2 separate regions of the Homo sapiens genome follow, and region 2 is linked to region 1. The links are contacts of gene promoters, found by promoter capture Hi-C in blood cells and fetal thymus (Javierre and others, 2016). All regions are on one chromosome and are shown on one strand. The core of a region is centred on a gene start or on the middle of the fragment in contact, and the rest is flanking DNA. Distances in the headings are between cores, read along the strand shown. Region 1 holds the start of MRPL43 (mitochondrial ribosomal protein L43). Region 2 overlaps HIF1AN (hypoxia inducible factor 1 subunit alpha inhibitor).

What was found. The method cuts DNA at HindIII sites, captures the fragments that hold promoters and counts their contacts. A CHiCAGO score of 5 or more calls a contact.
Region 2: a fragment that was not itself captured here is called in contact with the fragment with the promoter of MRPL43 in region 1 in 4 of 17 cell types (fetal thymus, naive CD4 T cells, activated CD4 T cells and 1 more); the score reaches 7.1 in fetal thymus.

Annotation. Positions count from the first base shown.
Region 1 is chr10:100,981,874-100,988,971 of GRCh38, reverse strand. MRPL43 (mitochondrial ribosomal protein L43) reads left to right here and starts at 1,475. Exons shown (of 3, transcript NM_032112.3): 1 at 1,475-1,659; 2 at 1,776-1,882; 3 at 1,997-2,703. The coding sequence starts at 1,529. The coding sequence ends at 2,238. It overlaps TWNK (twinkle mtDNA helicase), which reads right to left and starts at 1,429. Exons shown (of 5, transcript NM_021830.5): 1 at 1-1,429. The coding sequence starts at 761. SEMA4G (semaphorin 4G) reads right to left here. Exons shown (of 15, transcript NM_017893.4): 15 at 3,356-5,667. The coding sequence ends at 4,841. RefSeq lists an enhancer at 1,647-1,716. The HindIII fragment of the contact is 4,949 bases long and covers 1-2,886 here.
Region 2 is chr10:100,557,534-100,564,631 of GRCh38, reverse strand. HIF1AN (hypoxia inducible factor 1 subunit alpha inhibitor) reads right to left here. Exons shown (of 8, transcript NM_017902.3): 8 at 4,634-7,098. Among named protein-coding and RNA genes, the nearest start is that of HIF1AN, 25 kb to the right of the region's middle. RefSeq lists enhancers at 1,447-2,084, 2,087-2,136, 2,247-2,326, 2,085-2,723. The HindIII fragment of the contact is 1,639 bases long and covers 3,620-5,258 here.

The sequences.
Region 1 (7,098 bases), core at 226-2,725:
CTAATCAGTGGTAATCCAAACAGATTGTGGTAGGCGCTGGGTCGGGGAATAGTGGTTTCCTCGTAGCTCACTCCATCCCCCTGGCATTTAGCCTCTAGGAGCTTCAGGCCTCGTAATCCTGAGCCCCCAGGGGAGAACCAAGGGAAGACAAGACTGCGAGCAGGTCGCAGATATCGCACACTGAAACGCTTGAGTGTGTCATCTGTAACCTTGGTAAGGCCAAACATTGTATCAGCCAGCTGAACCTCCTCCTGATCAGGCAGCTCCCAGAGAGGTATTGCTCGGTTCCAGATCCTCCGGACCTCCTCGCTGTCCTCAAATTCTGGTGCCTTGCTAAGCAGAAACCCCTCCCTGGCCCCATCCCCTCGCCCCTCCACGCTGGCCTGGAAGTCTTCCCAGCTCCCTTCTGCTAGGCTGGTCATGCAGAGAAAGTGGCCTGTGGTCTTGTCAATGAAGAGGCTGAAGGAAGTGGTAACACCAGTCTGGCCTTTGAGCTGTGAAGACTCTGCAAAGGGGCTCAGTGCCCGCAGGCAACTGTGACCATCCTGGAAGGGGATCCCATGCCCCCGCAAATACTGGCGGATTTCAGTTGCAGTTACAGGCAACACTGGCATATCCAAGGCTTGGAGAGTCTCCTTCCTGTAACGTCTGCGAGGAGGGCCTGGGGCCAAGTTTCGGGGCAGGCCCCTCCGACCCATCCACTCCCCACGCAGGGGTAACAAGATACGGAGGGGGTACCCACTTCGGAGGAGGACCCACATTCCTAGCCAAATGTGGGAAGTCACTACTTGAAATGCCTTAGGTGCCTGGTTAGCGTGCCTTCACTAGACCAAACTCTAGGGATATCCCACGCAGCACTCTGCAGAGCTCACTCTAGGTGCATTCTTTCTCTCCATGAATTTCTCCTCTTCAGCCCCTCTACGTTGCTGCTTCACACATATGCCCATCTACACGACCCTTTCGCGTCCACGTCCTTCTACAATGGCTCCCCCACCTCTATGGTCCGTTAGTTAGTTTCTCTCCGCCACCTCACCTCTATGACCCTCTATACAGTTCCTCACTGACACAGTTTCTTTGCATCATCTTCTCACCTCTACTGCTCCTCCACAGCATCTCCTCGTCGTCCTCATTTCTATAGTCATCTGCATCCTTTTTGTAGTCCCTTTGCCCTAGGCCCCGACTAGAGACCCTCTTCCGCTTCTCCTTCCCCTCACTGGGACCTCAACACGGCGAGAGCACCCAGCACGACTCCCGCCAATCCCCCGGCCCAAAGGAATGCCAGTCTCTATCCTCCCCCGTGTCTTCACTCCGCTCTACTACTCCGAGCTCCGCCGCGCCGGCCCCCAGCCCCAGGTTACCACTTTTCTCTCTCCCACTTCGCCGGCAACGTGAGTCTCCCGCACATGCTACTCGCCTTGACCTCGGAAGCAAAACTCCGGGAGCGGTCGTCCCGGAACCGGAAGCCTCGAGGTTTAGTCCCGCCCCCCTCTCCTCGCTGCTTAGGCTCCGCGGCCTCCAAGCTGTAGCTATGACGGCGCGCGGGACTCCGAGCCGCTTCTTGGCCAGCGTTCTCCACAACGGACTGGGTCGCTATGTGCAGCAGCTGCAGCGTCTGAGCTTCAGCGTCAGCCGCGACGGCGCCTCGTCTCGCGGCGCCAGGTGAGCCAAGGGAAGTGCGCAGGCGCGGGTCGGGGTGGGTGTGGAGGTGGCAACGACTCCCCGGGTAGGTCGCCCCCAGTCAGGGGTCATACTGCTCACTGTCCCGGGTCGCTTAGGGAGTTCGTGGAGCGGGAGGTGATCGACTTCGCCCGACGGAATCCAGGGGTCGTAATATATGTAAACTCGCGTCCGTGCTGCGTGCCCAGAGTAGTGGCCGAATACCGTGAGTGGGGCCGGGCTCGGGCTGGAGGGCGGGATCAGGGGCTCGACCCGCTATCCTCCTTCTCGCTTGGTCGCACCGGCCAGCTTCCACCCACTCTCACCCCTCTTCTGCCAGTTAACGGGGCTGTGCGCGAGGAGAGCATCCACTGCAAGTCGGTCGAGGAGATCTCGACGCTGGTGCAGAAGCTGGCCGACCAGTCGGGCTTGGACGTGATCCGCATCCGCAAGCCCTTCCACACCGACAACCCTAGCATCCAGGGCCAGTGGCACCCCTTCACCAACAAGCCGACCACGTTCCGCGGGCTACGCCCCCGAGAGGTTCAGGATCCTGCCCCAGCCCAGGTGCAAGCACAGTGAAGAGTTGCCCCACCAACTGCAGCCCCAGGCTTTGGACTGTTACTCCGGTAAAGGTGGTTCTTCCCCTTTGGGATTCCAAGCCCAGGCAAATGGAACCCATCAATGGGCAAGTTGACAGAGGTTCTGCTTGGGATAATGAAGAGCTGCCTGTTTCTTTCCAGTGCCTGCTTCTGGGGGCAGTGACCTTGTGAACCACTCATTTTTATGCAAGTGGCATCCCTAAAACCTGAGATGAGGAAGACTTCAAGGGTTTTACAGGGCCCTTGTTTTTTAAATCCAAATTGATAATAATGATCTCAAAACACAGTGAGAGGTCTGAAGGCTGGCTTCTGAAGAATCCCTGATGTCTTATTGGAACAACCACTGAGCTACGGAGAGCTCTGCTGTGATGGGCTAGGCACTTTATATCTGTGTGAATACAGATTTATAAAACAGGTTAATAAACTTATCCAAGGTCACATTTCAGGTCTGTCTTCAAAATGTGTGCATATGTTAAGCACAAGCCTCAGTTTTCATTATTTTAAAACTAGACGCAGAACATATAACAACTGTCAGGTGGTTAGTATCAAAGGCCAAGTGATTAATCTAGGCCTGACCCCTGAAAGGGAGAGGGGAGTGATTCTCAGACCAAGTCCTGGCTGACAAGCTTTCTCTGGTCTTAGCTATACATCTCCTTCCCCCCACGTCCCTCTTTGTGCAGAAATAAAATCCATGTCCCTTGAGCCAGCTGGTGGGGGGTGCTGAGAACCTTGGGGAAGGGCAGGAAGGCTGATATTAATGAGTATTTTCTAATCTTAGTTTAAAAAGGGGGGATGGTGGGGAAATGAGAGGCAGGAAATGAAAATCTAGAAACCCCTGTAAGAATTCTTGAACTGTTGTCATTTTCTTGTCATGCCCTAACACCATGATCAATGAATAGTGTGAACCTTACTAAAGAGGCCTGTGTGCCTGCCAAGGAGTCAGGATGGAAGCGGAGGATCCCAATTTCCTCTGCAAATAGTTGTATTGGGGAGCAGAGCCAATCCTGGAGGCAGATATCACCTTCTGTATAGGCTCAGGAGCCTGTCCCCTGGTGATCAGGGGTGGGCGCATCTAGATGAAGCAGACTAGTCATAGCTGTGGGGAAAAAGGGTGTTTATTAACCAACGGCAGGGGGAGGAGCTGAGCCCAGGCTCCCCACTCTGTCACATGCCTGTTCCACCCACCTGGTTGTAAGTGGGGGCATTCCTAAAGAAGTGTAGCCATTCTCACAATAAATACATTCATTGTGGGGTGGAGGTGGGAGAGGTTGGGTGAAGGGCAGTAAAAACCCGTGGGATTCCACGTTCTCAGCTACAAAAATAACAGTCATCCTCACCCGAGGGGAATGGGGGAGCTCAGTCAGAATTGATTGTCCCATATAGGCCTAGAGACTTCAGAGGCCCCTGGCCCCTGAAAGTGCCCCGGTGAGGTAGGACAGGGGTAGGAGCTAAGCGTCCAAACTCCCAGCCTCTGCCCTTTGCATAGTTCCAAGAATGGGCTTCATGTGCCAGTTGAGACATCAGATTTCTCCTCCCTTTCCCTGCTGTAGTCTAGAGGAAGCAAATGCTTGATTCCCCCAAAAGAGAGGCTGGCTCATTGAGTGCAGTGTTGGTCATCCATCCTAGGCAAGGGCCTGTGAGGACAGTTAAATGGGAGGGGGATCTCCCTCTGAAATGTCCACGGACTAAACCCAACAGACAGGTCCAAGACAGCAAGGGAGGCTCAGAGGTGCATGTGAGTGGAAATGTAAGCACATGTGTGATACAGGTGTGTGTTACCACATGTGCATGGGGATGGGACATGCCTGGAGCTCTGTCTCTCATACTCTTGAGAATGACCAAGGAGAGTGGGGAGGCTGATTCACAAGGGCCACACAGGAAGGGAGAGGAGGGGAGTGATGCAGTCTTACCTCCCCAGGCTGGCCCGTTCCCAAGCTCTTGACAAAGAGGTCACCACATGGGGCTGGGGAAGAGGACCAGATAGGATGTGGCAATTGGGAGGGTACCCCAAGTCCAGAAGCAGGGATGAAACAAGAATGCACCAGGAGAAGGTGAGGGTGGGGGCACTGCAGCCCAGCCGATAAACATTCTTCCATGTGTGCATGTGAATGTACGCAGGGCTTAGGTGGCTGGCAGAGGTCTTGTCTGGTTTCAGGACCATCCAGCACACAGGGCCATGCAGAGGGTGGTGACATTGAGCCCATATGGACCTGCAGAGCCCTGCCTGGGAGAAAGAGAAAGGGTTTGGGCAGATGAATGGAACAGGAGGATGGAGTCCTCACCTATAAGTGTTTAGGTTAGGGGATAGGAACTGGCTCTGGGTCTGCAGGGCACCTGATCCTGAGGGAGCACCTACCTCTGAGGAGCACCGATGGGCCTGGGCTGCTCACATGTGGGTCTGTGGAGACTGAGGAGGGGGCTTTGGCTGGGCCTGACTGGCCAGCCCTACAGGGACATCAAAAAGTTGGGAGAAGGGTATGGAGTGGGGGTAATGAAGGGAGGGTGGCTGTGTTAGGGAGGCAGTGGCCCAGCCTGGGACAGATAGGCTGGCTTGGAAGAGCATTTGTTCTGGGAGGCTGGGCTCAGACAGAGCTCTCATCTAGCTGCTCCACGAGCTGCGTGTGCTTCCTTTTTTCCAGGATGCGGCTGAGTTCCTCGGCGAAGGAGCAGGGCCCTGCTGGTACTCCATTGTTGCTCTGCCTCAGAAGCACATAGCTATTGCCATTCATCCTCCGCAGCCGGCTGGGCAGTGCCACCAAGCCATTGGTCAGCTCAGCCGGTGGCGGTGGGGGCGGTGGGGGTGGTGGGGCTGGGGCTCCCTCCCCAGGGATGATCTGGAGACAGCTGCCCTCCAGGCCCCCAGCCCCCTCATCATCACCCTCATCTTCCTCTCCAGGACACTGGCCTGAGACTGTCTGCAGTTGCACCGCAGATCCTCCTGCCCGGCTGGCCCGACCCAGTGAGTATTTCCGTCGGCGCCCTCGTCTGCCTTCCCGCAGACAGGCCACATAGAGGAGGGAGGAGGCCAGGATGAGGCAGAGGCCACCAAGCGCGGCAATGGCTAGCACATAGAGCAGTCTCACATCAGGTGCCAGCTGTGCCCCAGGTGTGGCAGGGGCTTTTGGAGCTGGGGCAGGAGTGGCTGGCCGGACTGTGAGACTATAGGAGGCCAGCAGGGTGCGGAGGCCATTTTCCTCGGCATAGCAGCCATAGTTGCCACTGTGCTCAGGCTGTGCATCTGTAACCAGCAGCCCGTCCACGCCCACACGGTAGCCACCCTGCCCATCGCTCAGGCCCATGCTCCCATTGAGTAGCCACAAGGCCCGGGCCAGGTTGGATGGCTGGTCACAGGGCAGGAGGACATCATCACCCCGGAGCACAGAGCGGGTCTTCAGTGGTGGTGGTGGCCCTGTGGGGTTTGGGGGAGAGGTCAGTACCAGCCCGTCCCAGGAAGGGATTAGAGATGGCAAGCCAGACTGTTCACTGCCAAGTCCCTGGCACCAAGCACAGAACCCAGAATCACAGTGACAGCTGACCCAGGCTCTGTGCTCATGCTTCCACAGAAGGTTCACGTTGGCCCTTCCCAGGAAGCAGGCAGTGCCTTGGGCCCTTTTCCATTCTCTCTCCATGCTCTCATCCTCTCCTGTGGTTTCAATTTCTGCCATCTGCCAGTAACTCCTAATCTCTACCTCAGACTTCTCTCCTGAGTGCCAGACTCGGATATCTACCATGTGCTGGGCATCTCCACATGAGGTCTCTTGGACACCTCAAAACCAAAGCTTTTCTCCCCAACGACACCAAGTCCTTTCCTTGAATCGCCACCACTGTGAATGGCACCACCAGCCACACAGTTGCTTAAGTCAGAAACCTGGGAGTCTCCCTTCTCTTTCTTGCTCGCCTTTTTGTTTTGTTTTGTTTTTTTGAGACGGAGTCTCATTCTGTCGCCTAGGCTGGAGTGCAGTGACGTGATCTCAGCTCACTGCAACCTCCACCTCCCTGGTTCACGCGATTATCTTGCCTCTGGCTCCTGAGTAGCTGGGATTACAGGCATATGCCACCATGCCCAGCTAGTTTTTGTATTTTTAGTAGAGACAGGGTTTCACCATGTTGGCCAGGCTTGTCTCGAACTCCTGACCTCAAGTGATCCACTCGCCTTGGCCTCCCAAAGTGCTGGATTATAGGCATGAGCCACCGTGCCCGGCCCTTCTTCACGTTTGTATCTAACTGTCACTAAGATTCTGTTTCTGGCATCTATCTTAGACCTGTTGATTTCTCTCCTTCCATGACTCCTGGCCCACTCTGGCCCCATGTAATCCATTCTTCATGAGAGGTATTTTAAAAACACAAATCTGATCATGCCACTCTCCAGCCTAAAACTCTTCAGAGGTTTCCTATTGCTTTTCGGATAAAGACCAAAATCTTCAACATGGCCTTTGCCCACTTGTCCAGCCTATTCTCCTGTCACTCAAATGTGCCAGCCTCCCTCTGCCTGCTGCTCCCTCTGCTTGCATGTCACCCCATTACCCCATGTCCTCTGCTTGCCTGGCTAACTTGTGGGAGATAGCATAGTATAGTGACCAGAAGCACAAAGTCAAATCAGACTGCTTGGGGTCAGGTTTGAATTCTTTTTTCTTTCTTTTTTTTTTTTTTTGAGATGAGATGAGGTCTCACTCTGTTATCCAGGCTGGAGTGCAATGGTGTGATCTTGGCTCACTGCAACCTCTGCCTCCCAGGCTCAAGTGATCCTCCCACCTCAGCTTTCCAAGTAGCTGGGATTACAGACATGTGCCACCACACCCGGCTAATTTTTGTATTTTTTGTAGAGATGGGGTTTTGCCAT
Region 2 (7,098 bases), core at 3,190-5,689, 430 kb after region 1:
CCTCAGTTCCACTCCTATTTACCTGGGAAATGACTCTCAGGCATGTTCACACCTACCCACCCCCCGCCCAAACCCTCTTTTCTCTCCTTTTCTCCTTGGGTGTTCTCATCTGCCTAATCCTCACTACCTCTATGAAGCTGAGCCCAACCCTGTTTCTTTCCCCTGGGTTCCAGCCTCATACCTCCTGTTGTTGCCAGATACTTTCTGTTGCAGCCAGACCCCTCTGCCCTACGAGCTCACTGTGCTCCAACAATGGTCAGAGCTGTCCTCTTCATCTCTTCACTGCCCTCCAAACCTCAGGAAATTCAGGCCTCTGTAGCTTTGCTCCCCTGAAGACCAACATGTCACAGTGTTCCATCCATATATACATATTTTGGAGACAGAGTCTTGCTCTGTTGCCCAGGCTGGAGTGCAGTGGCGCAATCTTGGCTCACTGCAACCTCCACCTCCTGGGTTCAAGCAATTCTCGTGCCCCAGCCTCCCAAGTAGCTGGGATTACAGGCATGCATCACCACACCTAGCTAATTTTTGTATTTTCAGTAGAGACAGGGTTTCACCATGCTGGCCAGGCTGGTCTCAAACTCCTGGCCACAAGTGATCTGCCTGCCTTGGCTTCCCAAAGTGCTGGGATTACAGGTGTGAGCCACCACACCCGGCCCCAATATATTTTTTCTTCATTTTCATAAATTCATAATCAGGGGGAAAAACACAAAAGATAAATTTTCCCCATTTAAAGATGCAGCTCTAGCTTCCCTCCTTCAAGGGGCCTTCTTTTATAGGCTCCTACCCACCTCTGAGCTCCCAGGTGTTCACCATCAAAGCTCACCACCCACCGCTTGACTCTGCTGTGTCTCTCCCTTCTCTAGGCAATGCACAAGTCCTGTCTCCACACCAGGTACTGGGATCCTCAGAGGCTTACGAAGCTCGGCCTTCACTTAAGGTGTCTACTCTCCAAGACCAAGCTGGGGAAGACAGCATCAGATGGTTTGTAAGTTCTCTTCCAGCTCCAATATTCAAGGATTTGGAATTTGAGGGTTCCTTCTATAACGTTCCTCTGGGAAAGTCTTCAGAGTGTCTTCAGTTAGCAGATATCCACATGTTTGTGAGCTGCTGACAAGAGTGCCCCCCTTTTGGGGAGTTGAGGCCCAAGAGAAACCAAGAGGATCATAAGATACTGTGTGTGGATGTAGGGGTGAGGGAAGTGTCCTGGAGACGAACTCCCTTGAAAATCTCCAATATGCTAACCTACACACACACACACACACACACACACACACACACACACACACACACACACAGTTCACCTAAACCCCCTGGAGGCAGAAACGTTCCCCTAGAAGCTCTTAAGGAGCATCCTCTTCCCCTCTTTCTCCAAAAAAGGGAATAGTCAGTATCCTGGGGCTCAGTGCCTCACCACAAACCACAAAGCATGGCTGCCCCCATGGGGCTTCACTGAGCATGGCAGCCTCCATTACCCGTCCTCCTGCCCCCATCAGGACAGAACCAACCTCCATCTCCAGCTCTCCAAGAAAAGGCCAACGGACTCCGCCGTTCCTCCAGTTCTTTCCCCTCTCCCACTCCTCCCAGTAGGCTGAGTCCACTCCCTGCAGCAATCCATCACCCTCAACACGCCCGTCCACCCACACCCCCACCTCCCCGCTCCTGAGCGGCACCCACACACATGGACGGTCCTCGGTTCATCTCGCCCTAGGTCTCCAACGCCCATCTGGAGCTTCCAGGGTGCGCCCGGATCCCAGCCCCGGCCGCCTCCTCCCGCCACCCGGGCCAGAGCTGCCTGAAGAGCAAGCCGGTGTCCTCGGCAGCCCCGCCCCGGGCTCTGAGGACTAGATCTCATCCCTAAACGAGGTCAGAGGACCACGGACCTCAGACTCACCTGGGAAACTGGTCACAAATACAAATTCCTGGGCCCCATCCAGAACTGCCGAATTATTCTGGCGGTGGAACCCGAAACCCGCCCTGCCTGCAGCCCCTCCGGCGAGCCCGAAACGGTACAGACCCAGGGCCCCGTCCGACGCCCGACCCCTCGCCCCAGTGCCCCCGAACGTGGCCGCCACTCTGCTTTGAACAGCGAAGGAACTCGAGACAGAGCCGAGCTGGGCTGCGGCCAGCCCACGGCCAGTCGGCGGAAGGTCGGGGGCCCCAGGCTCTTGCGCGGCCCCACAGACCCTTGCGTCAGAAGAGTGGCCCCCCGCGCCATGGGCTCTGCGGCCAGGAGGCCACGTGCGACGTCGCTCAGGCCGGAACACGTGGCTCCAGCAGAAGCCACATCTGGATTCTACACGTGCTGGGCTGCGGGCGAGGTTCTTCCACACCACAGGCGTCTTCTTGCCACCCAGGAGACCTGGGCCGGCAGCTTCCCTGCAGTGCGGGGCCCACGGGCTCCCCGCAGTGGGGAGTGCGAGAAACGCAACTGCGACCTCGCCGCGCACTCCGCTTCCGCCATTGGCTCAGGATCCCTGCGTGGAGCGAGGGCGCCACGCTGCGACTGCAGCAGGGACGGCACGTCCCAGGGGAGAGCGCGGGAAATATGGTGCGTGAGGTCCCAATTTCCAGGTTCCCTCCCACCTCAATGACTCGTTTTATAGCCGCCCCCTCAGGCTGACCTCTACCCTAGACCCCGTCTAACTAATCGCTAATCCCCTGACCTCAGGAAGGCCAGGGATGAGAGTCACAGGCCAATGCCTCTGGGCAGCCATAGGAAGTGAGGAAATGCAGACCCCAAATTTTCCCCTAAATCCTAGAAATATGCTCCAGATAAAAGTCTTTGCCTGGGTTCAGATTCTAGACTCCTGTCCTTCATTCCAGAAATTTCAGCACCATAGAATCACTGGCAAGTCTCGGACAGTATTCAGGCCCACTGCCATGGTGGCTTCCTATCAAAAATATTCTCATTTGTCACTGACCTTAGCAGGGGAAAAGACCTCAGAATTGGACCCAGTGCTCAGAGGTGGCCTGACCATCTCAGAAAGCAGTGGGGTAACACCTCCCTTGATCTGGCTGCTCCGTTTGGTTAATGCAATTCATGGCTGTGTTAGGATTTTAGCAGTCACATCACACAGTTGACTCATATTGAGCTTGCAGTCAACTAAACCCCCCAGGTCTTTTCTTCATGAACTGCTGTCAAGCTGGGCCAACCCCTACAACCGGTACTTATGTCATTGATTTTGTTTTAACCTAAGTGCAGGACTCTACATTTATCCCTGTTAAGTTTAATCTTGTTGGTTCCAGCCCAGTGTTCCAGCCTGTTGAAATCGTTTTGAATCCTGACTCTTTCATGCAAAGTATTAACTGCCCCTCCTAGCTCTATCACCTGCAAACTTGATGAGCCTGCTGCTTCGGTCAGTTGTCAATAAAAATGTCAGAGAGGACACAGGCCCAGACTGAGCCCTAAGGCATACTGCTGGAGACTTCCCTCTAGTCTAGGCTGACATGGATCCATTAATCAACCCTCACTGGGTCTGACTGTTCACCAAGCTTCCTAGCCATTTGGTTCAGATGCTTCTGCCACAACTAGATAACATGAGAGGCTTTGTCAGAAATTTGTCAGAGGCTTTGCTGGAAATTTCTCTTGCCCAGGCTGTGGCCCCCACATCAAGCTTAGGCCTTCTTTCTACCCTCCACACCCCACCATCATTTGTTTACTCATAACTTTAGGGGATTATATTTCCAATGGTGCCCCCTCCTGCATGACTTAATATTTCTGAGCTTCAGGATCACCTTGGGTGTGCCTTTGCTATTTCATATCCCATCATCCTATGCCTCCTCTGAGACCTCATTCTCTTAAATTCTCTGTCCTGCCACCTTCTCTGCCTATAAATGTGCAGTGGCCTCCCTTGCCTAAAAAGCTCTCTACTAGCTGCCCCCTTAAACTGTGGTTGGCTTCTGCCTCTGTCCTTCTTTTGAAAATCCAAACACTTCCAAACTCACCTTTCATGTCTCCTAAGCCTTTAGCAATCTGGGCTGCCAATCTCTCAGCTGAGCAACCATATTGCCCAAGCAGTGGACAGTGATGGTGGAGATAGAAGCAGAAGATTCACAACCACATCACAAAGATCAGATATGGTGGCTGCATAAAGCAGAGAGCCCAGGACCCCTCACAGACCAAAGTCAGGCTGCGGTCAAACTAGGCAGGTGACCAGAATGTTCAAAAGGACTGAGACATGAGGTCAGAGCCTAGGCAAAGTGCCTGGTCACAGACAAGAGCAGTGAACACTGAGAAGCCTGAGCCTGGGGACTTCTTACACAGTTGCTATAGGGGTTGGAATCAGTCCTGGAGCCAGGTCAGCTGGGAAGACAGCCTGGCTGGAGGGGGGAATGATGTGAACAGAGAGAGGTAGGGCCTACACTTTTCCTGAGCCCTTATTCTAGGCTGCCCAGCATCAGTTGTTAGCAACTCCAGAGTGCCTCAAGTTCAGGGCCATACCCTCAAATATCTATGTGGGCCAGACAGGTCACGTGAGTGAGATCTAGGGTACAACAGTGAAGAGTGGAGATTGACAAACTGAAAGGAACACAGCCAAGGGGGCAGTTGCTCTTCAGCTCCAGCCAACTGCTGTCACATGGGAAAGGCGATTTCATTACTGCCAGATCTGATTTTCCAAAGAGAGAAATCTTTTTAGGTCAAGTTTCTGATCTTTAATGTTGTCAATTTTTTAAAACTTTCAAAAACTTGTATTGGCCAAACAAAACCATGTCTGTGGCCGACTGGACTAGCGGTGGCCATCTTTTAACGGCTGCTAGTTACGTGGTACTTGTAGAGGCTAAGTGACTTGGGTGTGTGGTAATATTACATTTAGAACCCACTCTCTGAGTTTCTTAATGTCAATGAGAGTGACTTTGGGTTATATAGAAACAATTTATATTCATAAATTACTTTGGTTAAAAAATATATTCAAGGCCAGGCACAGTGGCTTATGCCTGTAATCCCAGAACTTTGGGAGGCTGAGGCAGGACTGCTTGAGCCCAGGTGTTCGAGATCCGCCTGGGCAATGAAGTGAGGCCCCTGTCTCTACAAAAAATAAAAAATTAGCCAGGTGTGGTGGCATGTGCCTGTGATCCCAGCTACATGGGAGGCTGAGGCAGGAGGATCACTTGAGTCCAGGAGGTTGAGGCTGCAGTGAGCCATGCTTGCCCCACTGCACTCCAGCCTGCGTCGAAAAGCAATGCCCTGTCTCAGAAAAGAGCAAACTATTCACCTCTTCAAAGTTACATATCCAAAATCCTCTCTTTTCTAAGCTTTTAAGTTCTGCTAACAAATCTTATTATTTTGCTTATAAAACAAAAAAGTTTAATGTTTGATCCAACTTACATTTAACTAAACTCCTTTAAACACTTAAATGGCATTTATATGATTAATGTATTTGATTTCCTTAAGTACTTAATTTATCTGACCAAGACAAAACCTGATCAAGTACTTATATTTCCAATAAATTAAGTTTATAAATACAGGAAATCTTAAGTTGTTCTAAATGTTCTAAAACTACAGAAAGACTTAGCAATGATTGTACCACTGTACTCCAGCCTGGGCAACAGAGTGAGACTCCGTCTCAAAAAAAAAAAAAAGAAACTTAGCAAAATTTCAACTTAAAATTCGAGTATAAATACACACTTTTTAGTTGGCATTACAAAGCAAACCTGTTACTCTCACAAATGCTCTTCCATATGTCAAGGACTTAAAATACAAACTGCATAGATCCTTACAGCAAATAGTAATGATGTGGGGGTTTGATGTTTTTAAACACACCTGTTCTTCATCCTAAGTCCTCCATCATTAAAAGATGCACACCTACCAAGGAAACACCTGATGCCACTGCATGTATTTTGGAGGTTATCTTCTCAGATGACTGAGATTGCAGAACAACCAGATATGTTGGTTGGGCCACTGACTAGACTGTGAAAGGACCCAGAAAGTGCTATTTGTGGCCTCATAAAGCCCTATCACATGGCCTCCATTACATAAAAAGGCAGTCAGTCAGCTCACATCCCTGAGTTTGACGCTATTCAGGGCCTAACTGCACTTTCTCACAGAAGTCTAGAATCCCATCTAGGCTGTCAGATACCTTGTCTCAGTGGCAAATTTCCTTGGCTGTCAAAACACAAAATGTCTTCTCATCTTGATGATTTCTGCTTTTTATTTCTAGGTGAACCACTGCTCTTAAGAGTGTTTGTTTTTTCAAGAGATGGGGTGTCACTATGCTGCCTAGGCTGATCTCAAACTCCTGGCCTCAAGCTTCCTCCTGACTCAAGCCTCCCAAAGTGTTGGGATTACAAGTGTGCACGACTGTGCCTAGCAACTCTTAAGTTTTTCAGATGAAACCTGGTTGAATGCAGGATTGCTGTAACAACTTTGACTTCTGGTCACAATTCCTAAGGTTCTCCTGACAGAATGCTGGCCTCCTCACCCTTAGTTCAGGGTCTTGTCCTCCGCTCCTCATTGCCTATCATCGTTTAGCTTTCCCCTCTAGAACACCCATCTTCTTTCTTGAGACTCTCACCTCTTAGCATCACCCTTTCTGCACCACACCCCCATGCCAACGATTCCCAGAGGTCCCTACTCCATCTCCAGTACTGTGGAGTCCTGCTCCCTTCTCCATGATTCTTCCCCATTCACACTCATGCTCCCTCTTACAGAACTGATCTCTCCTCAGAAAAGGGAAATCTGATGTTACTTGTTCACACTAAGACATGCACAGTTGAGTCCTCCTGTTTATGCTGGGTAAACGATGCTTCCTAAGAAGAAATGGAGGAAAAGAAACTAACATTTACTGAGCACTTACTAGGCACTAAGTTCTGAATTAACTTAGTTAGTTAATGAGTTGTCTCATTCATTCTCAATAGCCACATAAGAGGACCTATTAAGAAATCCAGGGCCAGGTGTGGTAGCTCGCACCTGTAATCCCAGCACTTTGGGAGGCCAAGGCAGGCAGATCACCTGAGGTCGGGAGTTCGAGACCAGCCTGACCAACATGGAGAAACCCCATCTCTACTAAAAATACAAAATTAGCCAGGCATGGTGGCGCACGCCTGAGTCCCAGCTACTCGGGAGGCTGAGGCAGAATTGCTTGAACCTGGAGGAGG